Regions from separate parts of the Homo sapiens genome. Here regions 1 and 3 are each linked to region 2. The links are contacts of gene promoters, found by promoter capture Hi-C in human tissues and cell types (Jung and others, 2019). All regions are on one chromosome and are shown on one strand. Each heading gives the region's core, a stretch centred on a gene start or on the middle of the fragment in contact. The rest is flanking DNA. Distances are from core to core; before and after follow the strand shown. Region 1 overlaps LUZP2 (leucine zipper protein 2). Region 2 holds the start of LUZP2 (leucine zipper protein 2). Region 3 has its middle 56 kb from the start of LUZP2.

What was found. The method cuts DNA at HindIII sites, captures the fragments that hold promoters and counts their contacts. A contact is called where the count stands out against the background at its distance.
Region 1: a fragment that was not itself captured here is called in contact with the fragment with the promoter of LUZP2 in region 2 in 2 of the 25 tissues and cell types used here (dorsolateral prefrontal cortex and spleen).
Region 3: a fragment that was not itself captured here is called in contact with the fragment with the promoter of LUZP2 in region 2 in 3 of the 25 tissues and cell types used here (adrenal gland, aorta and stomach).

What each region holds. Positions count from the first base shown.
Region 1 is chr11:24,546,824-24,551,119 of GRCh38, forward strand. The region is part of intron 1 of LUZP2 (leucine zipper protein 2); the gene reads left to right. Among named protein-coding and RNA genes, the nearest start is that of LUZP2, 52 kb to the left of the region's middle. The HindIII fragment of the contact is 8,095 bases long and covers 1-4,296 here.
Region 2 is chr11:24,494,509-24,498,878 of GRCh38, forward strand. LUZP2 (leucine zipper protein 2) reads left to right here and starts at 2,545. Exons shown (of 12, transcript NM_001009909.4): 1 at 2,545-2,797. The coding sequence starts at 2,736. The HindIII fragment of the contact is 10,753 bases long and covers 1-4,370 here.
Region 3 is chr11:24,438,889-24,443,231 of GRCh38, forward strand. No RefSeq gene overlaps it. Among named protein-coding and RNA genes, the nearest start is that of LUZP2, 56 kb to the right of the region's middle. The HindIII fragment of the contact is 6,863 bases long and covers 1-4,343 here.

The DNA.
Region 1 (4,296 bases), core at 126-2,625, 51 kb after region 2:
TTAAAATAGTTTCAGTAGGAATGGTACCAGCTCTTCTTTGTACATCTGGTATACAATTCAGCTGTGAATCTATCTGGTCCTGTTTTTTGTTTTGTTTTGTTTTGTTTTGTGTGTGTTTTTGTTGTTGTTGTTGTTGTTGTTGGTGGTGGTGGTGGTGGTGGTGGTGGTGGTGGTTGGTAGGCTATTTATTGCTGATTCAATTCCAGAACTCATCATTGGTCTGTTCAGGGATTCTTCAGTTTCTTTCTTTCTTGTTCAGTCTTCAGAGGGTGTATGTGCCCAGGAATTTATCAGTTTATTCTAGATTCCCTACTGTGTGTTCATAAGATTCTCTGATGGTTATTTATATTTCTGTCCAAAAACATTCTTTACAGAATTAGAAAAAAAAAAACTATCCTAAAATTCACGTGGAACTAAAAAAGAGTTCAAATTGCCAAAGCAATCCTAAACAAAAAGAACAAGCTGGAGGCATTACACTACCTGACTTCAAACTGTACTACAAGGCAGCAGTAACTAAATCAGCATGGTACTGGTGCAAAAACAGACACATAGACCAACGGAACAGGTTAGAGAACCCAAAAGTAAAGCTTCACACCTGCAACCAACTGATCTTTGACAAAGCCAACAATAACAAGCAGTGGGTAAAGGACTATTTATTCAATAAATGATGATGAGATAACTAGTTAGTCATATGCAAAAGATTGAAATAGGACCCCTTCCTTTTACCATATGTAATACAAAAATCTACTTAAGGTGAGTTAAAGACTTAAATGTGAAACCTAAAACTAATAAAAACCCTAGAAGAAAACATAGGAAATATCATTCTGGACATAGGCCCTGGTAAAACCTTCATGACAATTTCAAAAGCAATTGCAACAAAAGCAAACATTTACAAGTGCGGCCTAATTAAAGACCACTGCACAGCAAAAGAAACTATCAACAGAGTAAACTGACATCCTACAAAGTGGGAGTAAATATTTGCAAACTATGCATCTGATAAAGGTCTAATATTCAGAATCAAAAGTAACTTAAATCAATAAGCCAGAAAAAGAAACTACCTCATTAAAAAATGGACAGACACTTCTCAGTAGAAGACATCTATGTGGCCAATAAGCATATTAAAAGATTCTCCACACCACTAATCATTGGAGAAGTGCAAATTAATACCACAATGAGATATCATCTCATACAAGTCAGAAGGACAATTATTAAAAGGTCAAAAAATAATACATGCTGGCAAGGTTGCAGAGAAAAGGGAATGCATATACACTGCTGGTGGAAATGTAAATTAGTTCAGCCACTGTGAAAAGCAGCCTGGAGATTTCACAAGGAACTTAAAATAGAACTACCATTTGACCCAGCAATTTCATTACTGAATATATCCCCAGAGGATTATAAATCATTCTACCATAAAGACACAGACATGCATATGTTCATTGCAGCACTGTTCATAATAACAAATACATGGAGTAAACCTAAGTGCCTATCAAAGGTGGGCTGGATAAAGAAAATGTGGTACATATATACCATGGAATACTATGCAGCCAGCAACAAAAAATGAGATCGTGACCTTTGCTGCAACATGGATGGCGCTGGAATTAATGGATGAAGAGAATTAATGCAGGAAGAGAAAACCAAATAACACCTGTTCTCACTTATAAGTGGGAGCTAAACATTGAGTACACAGGAGCACAAAGAAGGGAGCAATAGACACCAGTGACTACTTGAGGGTGGAGGGTGTGAGGACGATGAGAATTGAAAAACTACCTGTCAGGTACTATGCTTATTATCTGGGTGACAAAATTATCCTAGTGTCAAACTCCAGTGACACACAATTTATTCATGTAACGAACTTGCCCAGCTATCCCCTGAACCAAAAATAAAAGTTGCAAAGAAATAGATAAAATAAAAATAAGAAAATAACATGAAGGGAGAAGTTTTTAAAATATACTAAAATGTCTGTTAAAATTTTGTAAAATATAGAAACATGGAAAATGCCCAAAATTAAATATCAAATGATATGAGAAGTATTTCATATTCTAGAAGTAGATGTTTGCTAATTGGTTAATTTATTGTATATGTTTCATGGTAAATACTTTTCTTCTCAATTTTAAAGGCCTAAAACATTAATGTATACTGCTATAGACTTTACAAATACTGTATACTTACCCTATGTTAAATTTATTACAAAATTTGTTCTTCAATAAGAAATTAACCTTGGCTTACTGTAACTTTTTTTACTCTATACACTTTTAATTTTAATTTTTTGATTCTTTTGTTATAAAATTTAGTTTAAAATGCAAGTATATTGTACAGCTGTACAGAAATTTTTTATATCCCTTATTTTATAACCTTTTCCTGTTTTTAAGTTTGTTATATATTATTTACATTTTAAATTTTTTAAATTAAATACAAAGGTACTAACACAATATTGGCCTAGGCCCTCACTGGGTGAGGATTATCAATATCACTGTCACGCATCTTTACGTCTTGTCCTACTGGAAGGTCTCCATGGGCATCAGCACACACGGAGCTGTCCTCTCCTACGATAACAATGCCTTCTTCTGGAATACCTACTGAAGGGCCTGCCTGAGGTCGTTTTACTCTTAATTCTTTTTTAAAAATAAGTCTACGGAGTACAATATAAAATAACACTAACAAGTATAATATAGCAAATACATAAACTAGTAGCATAGTCGTTTATCATCAAGTGTTATGTACTATACATAACTGTATGTGCAATACTTTTATACAAGCGGAAGCAAGTAGGTGTATTTACACCAGCATCACCACAAACATGTAAGTAATGTGTTACACCATGAAGTTACAAAGGCTACATTTTCACTAGACAATAGGAATTATTCAGCTCCATTGTAATCTTATGAGACTACCATCGTATATTCCATCTTTTATTGGCTAAAATGTCATTTTGTTGTGAATGACTATAGATAATTTGAATGAGACAAATTGTATCAATTTAAATACCCCCAACGTTAACTAAAACCACCAAAATGTTCATGTTGCTTTCTATGGTCATTTATGGACATGAATTGGAAGATTCAATAAAATATAAAGAAATAAAATTACTGCTCTTTAGAATGGAGGAATAAGACACGACCATCATGTCCTAGGCTAGAAAAAGACTTGTTAGTACATATCAACAGGAGAAAACCCACCACCCTCTTCTGAAATGGAATTCTAAAAATATGTCCTGAGTGACTATTCTTAGAAATATTCCTACAATTATGTGAAATCTTTACATGGCTTGGGATTTGAGAACATTTATGAATCTGTTTTACTGTTGTGTACAGTAACATGTCAATCTCACTATAATGACTCAAATGTGCTAGCTCTTCTGATACTAATTGCTATAAATGTCAGTGTGTTAGAAATATTTTAAAATAGAACCTACCACATTTATGTATTAAAAACATAAAACTAAGGCATAATTTAAAGAATAATTTTGAAGTTTAATTTTGTCTTTTAACATTGTATCATGGTTTAATGTAAGAAATCAATTACACACATTATTTCAAGTTTGACTAATACAATTATAAAAGAAAGACTTATTCTGTTAGCTGGGTTGGTTGTTAGAACTGCTTAACAAAATATTATATTCTACAACTGGAAGAGTAATTAAATATCTTAGAGTTCAAATTTCTACCTGTTTTTTGAAGTATTTGAATGTAAACCAGATGGCCAGGCAGCCCAATCACTTATAGAGGCAGGAAATATATTCCATTATTGAAACTTCCAGATATTAGCAACTTGAATCTTTCTAATGGGTTAAAACAGGTCACCACTGTAGATGTCCTTCCTCAATGGATCTATTTTTGTCTTTTGGAACAGGAATGAATGTACCTTATTCTCCATGTAACACTCTTTTTCTTGTTGTCTAAATGTTTGCAATTGAAAGGAACATTGACCTTCCAAATGGTTTAACTCTCCACCAAAAATGCATAATACTTGTCCAGGAACAGTGGCTTATACCTGTAATCCCAGCATTTTGGGAGGCCGAGGTGGGAGAATCACTTGAGCCCAAGAGTTCAAGGCTGCAGTGAGCTATGATAGATGGGGCCACTGCACTCCATCCTGGGCAAGAGAGCAAGATCCTGTCTCAAAAACAAACAAACACACACACAAAATGTATGTTTTTTATACTTTAATTACAGAATAACAGGTATGCTTGTATCTAAATTTGGAGGTCAATAAAATTTATACATTTAGAAGAGGGGAAAAATATCTTCATGTACACTAAAATATTACATATGAGTATACATTTATTCCTAAGAAAAT
Region 2 (4,370 bases), core at 1,295-3,794:
ATACTTCAATTCTCTACATCTGTGGGAGTTTCCAGAATCTTACTTATACCTTTCAAGATGTACTCCCCTACTATGTTGCTCTCATGCCCTTCCAAGTTAGATGTCTTTTGGAGAGATTTTTTTTTTTTTCTTTTTGGCTTGCAGTAAATGCACAAAGGCCAACAAACTTTGTGGTTCTTTATAGATATCCAATATAGATACAGTGTAAAGAAAGTTCATTCTGACTTTTTTATTCATTGATATTAGATAATTTGGTTGTTGTTTTATGTTATATGTCTAGTTGAAAGTAAAAAAAACTTAGGTTGGGGAAAGTTTTTTCTTACATGTGTATAATGTTTTTCTCTCAAATAAGCATACATTTTGAAGTAATGCAGACTGAATTTGAATGCCATCGCCACTATATAAGTCTCTGAGTGACCTTGAGCAAGTTACTTAACTACTCTGAAACTGTCACCTTAACTGGAAAAGAGAAAAATACTAGAAATAACTACCACATTTGGTTTCTATGATTAGGACGTAAGATAATGGATGCAAAGTTGTTATATAAAAAATGTATTCTACAAATATGAGTGTTATTTCCTGGTGCACACATTAAAAAAATTGCCAAGTAGCCTTATGTCTTTGTTGAGTATACAACTCAAGTAATCTCCTTCAAAGTGAGCAGGGAATCTATGTTAGAAAACCCTGGCAGGAGCAAACCAGAGTTTTTATTTTACTTGGAATCAGAGTTCTGTTTTAGAAAAGTGTGGTGTCGTTTTTTTCTCTTAAATGATATGCAATTCACATGTTAGTTTATTTGTATATGCCTACTTATTAGGCATATACAAGATCGATAATGTTGTGGATCTTATTATTATTGCCCAAGGGGCTAATATTCACTTTTCAAAACTTATTACTCATCTAGTTCAGCAGCTCAAGATTTTGAAGCAAATCTGTTTTACATACATGTCTTAACCTTCAATCCCATTTAAAAAAAATAGTAAATTAGATGGTTAACCTTTTAGATTTGCATCCTCTTTAAAATAAAGCTTTACAGCAAATGCATTTTTCCTACAAATGTCTTCGAAAATGAGATTGAAGAGGATGTATCATCTAAATTTTTCTGTAAAGAGCTTGCCCCCGAAATAATTGGAACATGAACTGAAACCTCTAGATAGGAATTCCTGGACACAGCTGTCCATTATCTTTCGGGACTTTGGTGCACCTCACCCTTTACTGAACACAACTTTGTGTCAAACACTGGGCTAGGAGTGCTAGTTGTGATGTTTGAGGCAACAGTGGAATTTTTCTTAGGACTTAGTAGAACCAGTTCTTTTTTTTAATATGCATAGTCAGATTTTGATGATATTCAGTCTGCTCATATCTATAATAGTGATATTAACGTCTATTTCACTAGGATGGCTCTTGTGAAGATTAAATTAAATACTGTATGAAGAAGTGCCTTATACACAGTTATATAACCAGGATAATATCCAGATGGAATTCTCATTCTCTCTCTCTCTCTCTCTCTCACTCTCACTCACACACACACACACACACACACACACACACACACACATGCAATATCATCTTATAAATATCCTAGAATTGAATATCTCAGTAGCAGAGATAGTAGTTCTGTTTCTCAGAATTGCTTTTGCAAAATGGTGTTTTGGATTATAATTGTGCTATTTAATTTTTCTAATTAAAATTTCTAAATAGAGCCTATTAAATATTGGATGCTTATGATAGAACATTTGAAAATATAGAAAACCAAATGACCTACAAAACCTCTACCTTCCAGTACCATCATTCCGAGCTGATTACTGTTAACATTTTAATGGTTTTTGTCCGCTAGGTCTCCTTGATGAGTTTCACCTGAGGAAAAGGACTCCTTCAGGTGTGTGAACTTGAGCCACCAGGTCCAACCCCATTGGCAGGTGCTGGTACAGACGACTGAAATCAGAGGAAGATCAGAAATCTTCAAAACCCAGAGCAGCAGATGTCTTAACGGTCCCGAAACGTTCTTTGGTTCTTTGCAGTCAACATTCACGGGTTAAGAAGATTGCAATGCCATGACGGGCTGAGGTTGCATTTCTGGACGCTGCTTACTCCCGCTTCCTTCCATCTGTTTCAGGCAAATCATTATGCAGTTCTAATTAGAACAATCTTCTAAACACTCTCTCCAGAGCGACGTTCTTCCAAACACGGTTTAAGCGGCGAGAGACACCTGCCTAGGACCCTACGCGTCTGGAAGTCTCTCCCAGTGAATTGGGTCTCATCTCCTGCCGAGTACGCAAGTTCAATTATCGGCAGATTAGGTTTCTACTCTCCGTGCCCCGCCCCGCGCCATCCTGGGGAGCAGCGGGAATAAATGATCCGCCCCTGGCCAGTGCTCACCCGACTGACCAGAGCGCAGCCCGGTGACCGAAGCGCACGGGGCGATCGCGAGGCGCCCCCTCCCTCTCCCCGCGCCGCCTCCAGCGCGAGTGACGGCGCGCCCTCCGGGCTCCGGAGCGGCGGCGCCGAACAATCCCCGGCAGGGCTCGCCTCGCCGGTGACATCACTCCTGAAGATACTCCTCGCTCCCAGCGCCTGCCTTCCCCAGGCGTCCGTTCGTGTGCCCGTCTCCGCCTTTCCGCCTCGGAAGAGCGCTCATCACTGGCTGGGGACAGAGCCGGGCACCAAGGAGCGACAGGATCCCGAAGAGAGAGAGAGAAGGCAGCGAGGGAAGGAGGACCCCGGCAGGCAGCAGCATGAAATTCAGCCCAGCGCACTACCTGCTGCCTCTCCTGCCTGCGCTGGTCCTCAGCACCAGGTGAGTCCAGGAGCGTGAGTGACCTGAGGCCAGGGGCGCTGCCGGGGCGAGGTTGGTCCTACTGTGGGTCACCAGTGGGGGCCAAGGCACTTCAGCTGTTTGCATCTCCCGCCTAAGCAAGAGGGACGCTGTATGGTTTGGGCTCTGAAATCCTTCTGAGAGAGCAGAGCCCTTTCCTAGTTATCCCAGCCCCCTGGAGAAAGTCTTAGGATTGCTCTCAGTGAGGGATCAAAAGCTTTCTCTTCCGAAGGAGAGAAAAGACATTTTACCCTCCGGTCCTATTAGTAGCCAAAAGGTAACACGCGGTAAAAGAACAAAATAAAGAACGGAAATAGGCAAGGAGGGAATTGCCACCAGGCAGTGTCTTTACATTGGAGTTGTCTTAATAACCATAGAGCTTCTCCCTTCCCCCAAGTGTGCCTGATTTAAGGAAGAGGAAACCAGAGAAAACAGATTAATCCTGGAAGATGCTAAGACTTGTACAAAAGTTCCTGGACTCCTGAAATGGCATGTTTCAACGTCTTGGATAAGCTTAGTGATAGGCGTTTTCTTTTGACTGTCTTGTGAACAGGTCTAATTAAAGAGCACAGAAGGCGATTAAAAGTTAGAAGACACTCTCAGAGTGCTGATGCAGAGACCCTAGTCAGAAACAATTAAGTACTGTACTCCATCACTGGCCATGGATGGGACTTTAAGCCCCATTACAGAGGAGCTATTTTTGGTGGAGATTTAAAATGCAGAGATTGAGAAGAGTTTTGTGACTCCCCACTGTTGATCAAGTCCCAAAGTTGTGATGGGTTTGCTTTTTTCTTCCACAAGCGCAGCACAAAGGTGGACTGTTTAGTTGCCCAGGACTGTCTTTATTCTGCATGCCCTTAGCATCATATTGGCAGCAACCTCTTTCCCTTGGCTACTATAAAATAAAATAACCCACACAGGATGAAGATCCTTTCAAGTCTACGTGAATAGAAACATTATTTGATTGTGCATCTGATGGCAAATAAAGTAGGGATATAGGGTTGTTTCTAATTCTGAAATGGAAAAGGATGAAGAAAACTTACTCTGTCTTACAAATCAAGGCTGTAAAATTCTTGATTCCGTTCCTAATCTACACACCTTCTTTCAGGCCTGTGTAACCAAACTTTCCTTTTAGTGTAGAGACTATTTCATTTACCCTCAATAATTGATAAATTTAGTCTTTCCTTGCAAACAAAGCCCAGGTGACTTTCCCAGATTAAAATGAAATGTAAGTTTGATTCTTCATTTTCTGTAAGGTTTGCTTGTCACTTCAGCTCATAAAGTGCAGATGGTTTTAAAGAAAACCAGTTTGCTTCCCAGTATTATAATTAGTTGCTCTAAATACAGAGCCCATTTTAATATTTGTGGTTAGCTCTCAACAGTTCAATACAAATTATGCATCACAGTTATTCTTTAAATTCTTGCCATTCACTCTTATGTTGTGATTTAGTCTTCTAGAGAAAGGAAATTTTCTAACTTTGGACACTTAAGTAGATGACAGTCAACACATGCATAAATAATAGGAAATATTTAAACAATAGAAATCCAGCCCACA
Region 3 (4,343 bases), core at 134-2,633, 57 kb before region 2:
TTAAAACAGAAGCAAGAGCATACATAAAATTCATGGTGAAGCTTGGATGGAAGAATGGTGAAATCACTGATGCTTTACAAAAAGTGTATAAGGATAATGGCCCAATTAAATCAGCAGTTTACAAATGAATAACTCATTTTAAGAAGGGAGAAGACCATGTCGAAGATGAAGCCCATAGCATCAGATCATCCACATCAGTTTTCAAGGACAAAAAAATCTTGTTTATGCCCTAATTGTAGAGGACCAATGACTAATGGCACAAATCAGTTTCAGACAAGGGAAGTTTCAGTGGCAAATTTCAATAAGTGGGATCAAGCTCCTGAAGTACTTCTTCAAATAATGTAATAGGAGATAGAACATGACTCTAACAGTATGATCCTGAAGACAAAGCACAGTCAAAGCAATGGCTACCAAGAGATGGAAATAATCCAGTAAAAGCAAGAGCAGATGAGTCAAGAACAAAGGTAATGGCAACGGTTTTGGGAGAATGCTCAAGGCATTGTGCTTACTGATTTTCTGGAGGGCCAAAGAACAATAACATCTGTTTATGAGAGTTTTTGAGAAAGAGAAAGCTTTAGCAGAAAAACATCCAGGAAAGCTTTAGTCTTTCTCCAGTACAACAATGTTCCTACTCATTAATCTCTCATCAAACAGAGGCAATTTGGAGAGATTTTTGATGAGAAATCATTAAGCTTCTGCCTTAAGTTCTGATTTGGTTCTGACTCCTTTTCATTTCCTAATCTTAAAAAAGTCTTTAAAGGGCTTCCATTTCTCTTCCGTTAGTAATGTAAAAAATATAGTATTAACATGTTTAAATTCCCAGGGCCCTCAGCTCTTTAGGGCCAGACTAAATGGCTGTTATCATCACTTACAAATGTGTCTTGATCTTATGGAGATTATGTTGAAAATTGTTTTTATTTTATTTAAAATATTTATTTTACTTAATTGTTTTCATTCCAATTTTCCTTGAAATCCACTTGAGTGTATGTATACGTACATAAAATATTACAAGAATAATTCAGCACCCCTCCTCAACAATGACATACTTTTCTTTCCCATACCTTTCTTACCCATACCTTGTCTTTATTAGTTTGCTATATGTGTATTCATCTGAATGTGTTATATATAATTACTTCATATATTTATCTTTTTTCCAGATGAACTATTATATGATGTATGTTTTTGTAGTCTGCTCTTTTCTTAAATAATTTTCTGAGTTTAATTATCTTAATACATTTTATCCATGTTAATTGGTTGTTAATCCGTCTGGAATTGTTATTTGTGGATAGTAAATATAAGAGTTACATTATTTTTATGACTGATTTTCTCAAACTATTAAATTTTAATAACTGTATTTGTTTTCCTTTGATAGGTATTATTTCTCTACAGTATATAATGCTAGCCATATCATATAGTATACCCGTATCTACAAGAGTATTTTTAAGAACTCCCTGTTGTATTGATTTCTCCGTCTCAGAGATGGTAATTTTTCAATTCACGTAGCTTTAGAATAAATCTCAATATTGACAAACCAAAGTGACTCACCTTGATTTTCTTCTAAACTGTCCCCAAGAACTAGGAAAATAGTTCCTAGGAAGACAATAATTGCATCTTCTGTAATGCCTCTGATTGATATTTATATATTTCTCCAAAATATTCACCCATATGTTAAATTTATTTCTAAGGATTGCATTATTTTTCATTGTTATTATAAACAATACATTTTATATTTCTTTTTTTTTGGTTTTTACTAATATAAAGTATGTAGTTGATCTGTATGTTAATTTCACACATAGAAACTTTAAGAACTCAATAATGAAATCTAATCACTTTTCTATAGATTTTCTTATGCTATGCTATCATAGCTTCTTCACATACAGTTTTACTTGTTTTCCAATCTTTAGATATTTTGGCTCTTTTCTTGTATTACTGACCCTGGTTACATCTTTGATTCATTGTTGTATTGAACAGGTGATATTGGGCTTTCTCTTTTTGTTCCTGATCTAAAAGTGAAAGTTTTGACTCTGTAGTTTGCATTTTTTTAAGATAATTCTTATCAAGTTAAGGTAGTTTCCTTTTCCTAAAGGTATTTATTATTAGTCTGAATTGATTTAAAGTTTTTAAGTATGTATTTTACTAAATTTTTATTGAATAACAAAATGCATGTAACCACATTCATGCAATCATCACCTAGATCAAGAAACAGAACATTTAACAATACCCACAAAAGAACCCCTTGTACTCTCTTTCACTCACTTTATCTTTCCTTTCCCTCCTATAAAATAAAAGATGACTATTGTAATTTTCTAAAATCATAAATCAATAATGCCTGTTTTTAATCTTTATATAAACGTTAACAATATAGTAAATGTTTACTTTGTTATATAAATATTACTATTAAATATATTTAATAATATATTAAATATATAATTAATATATAATATATAAATAGGAACATGCCAGATGTACTCTTTTGTTTTAGATATCTAGTGCTCAGAATATATTTATGATAGCCACGTTGTTATGTGTAGTTGTAATTATTCTAATTTCATTGATAAATAATATTCATTGTTTTAAATACTATAAATTTATCCATTCTAGTGCTGATGGATGTTTGTGATTTTCTGATTTTGTATATCATGAATAGTATTTCTCTGAATATTCATGTACTTGTATTGTTGAGAACATGTGTACACTTATATTGGACACATTTCTTTTTTCTTTTTTTTCTTTGGTTTTGAGATAGAGTCTTGCTCTTGTAACCCAGCCTGTAGTGCAATGGTGTGATCATGGCTCACTTTAGCCTCAACCTCCTGGACTCAAGTGATTCTGCTGCCTCAGCCTCCCAAGTAGCCAGGAGTACAGATGAGTGCCACCATGCCCCAATAATCAATATAGTCCTAAGAATGAAAATGTTGAAACATAAATTATGCATATGCTCAGCTTCAGTAAATATTGCCAAATAATTTTTCCAAATGGTTGCACCAACTTACTCATCCATCAGCTCTCTATGAGAGTAAAGATTGCTATATATTTTCACAAAAGTTAGTATCTACATCTGCCCAGTTATGACATTTACTGAAGATTCCTTATGCCTAAGTAATGCTTCCAGGGGAAAAGTGAGTTCAGATATCAGTTGATTTCTGTGGTACAACTCTCTCTAGACTCTAGCTCTTAGTATTTAAACTTAGACATTCAACAGCTCTCTGATTCTGTTAAACAGAGGAGTTTAGTCTTTTATCTGGCTTTTCTAGTTGTCTACTCTCCATTCTGTGTGAAAGTGGATATGGCATGTTGGATTTTATTCAATTATTTATGTAAATATATTTAAAAGAGCATGTGATTTTTCTTCCTTAATCTAGAGTTTCTAATGCTAAAATATATTTTTATTACTTCAATAAACCCATTTTGATTATTATTAATTTTTTTTTGAGGTGGAGTCTCGCTCTGTCATCAGGCTGGAGTGTAGTGGTGTGATCTTGGCTCACTGCAACCTCCAACTCCCTGGTTCAATCGATACTCCTGTCTCACTGTCTCAGCCTCCCGAGCAGCTGGGATTACAGGCACCTGCCACCACGCCCAGCTAATTTTTGTATTTTTAGTAGAGATGGGGTTTCACCATGTTGGCCAGGATGGTCTCAATCTCCTGACCTCGTGATCCACCTGCCTTGGTTTCCCAAAGTGCTGGGATTACAGGTGTGAGCCACTGCAGCAGACCTATCATTAATTTTTAATAAAATTTATCTTTATTTTATTTCTTCTACAATTTGTTGGGTTTATTTTAATTACTTAACTTAGAATTTTGGTTTGCTAATATATAGCTTTTCTTTGTTTCAAATATAAATATTTATATATACAAGTTTAGCTGTAATCACCATCCATGTATCTCAAAGTATTAAAATTGAGTATTTGAATTAACTGAAATGTTAATATTTTAATATATATTTGAATATCTATTGTGAATAATTTTTTCAACTCACAATATTTAGAATTGTGCTTATAATTTCAAAAATATATGGGGTGTTTTTTGTATGATATTATTGAATTCAAACATAATTGAATCATGCTTAAAAACAAGATCTTTGTAATACAACTTGTGTGAAATCTTCTGAAGTTTGTTTTTGATCTAATATTTGGTTCATTGTTTAAAAATATTTCTTATGTGCTTGAGAAGAATATATACTCTATATTTTGGATATGAATTTCTATATATTTTCTGCTTTGCAAATAGTGGTATTATTTAAGTCTTCCACACCTTATTATTTGTTACTCCTGAAGGCTGATTGTTTTTAAAATTTGCTTTGTGAGTTTGTGTTTGTTATGGTTTGTCTCTGTGTCCCCAC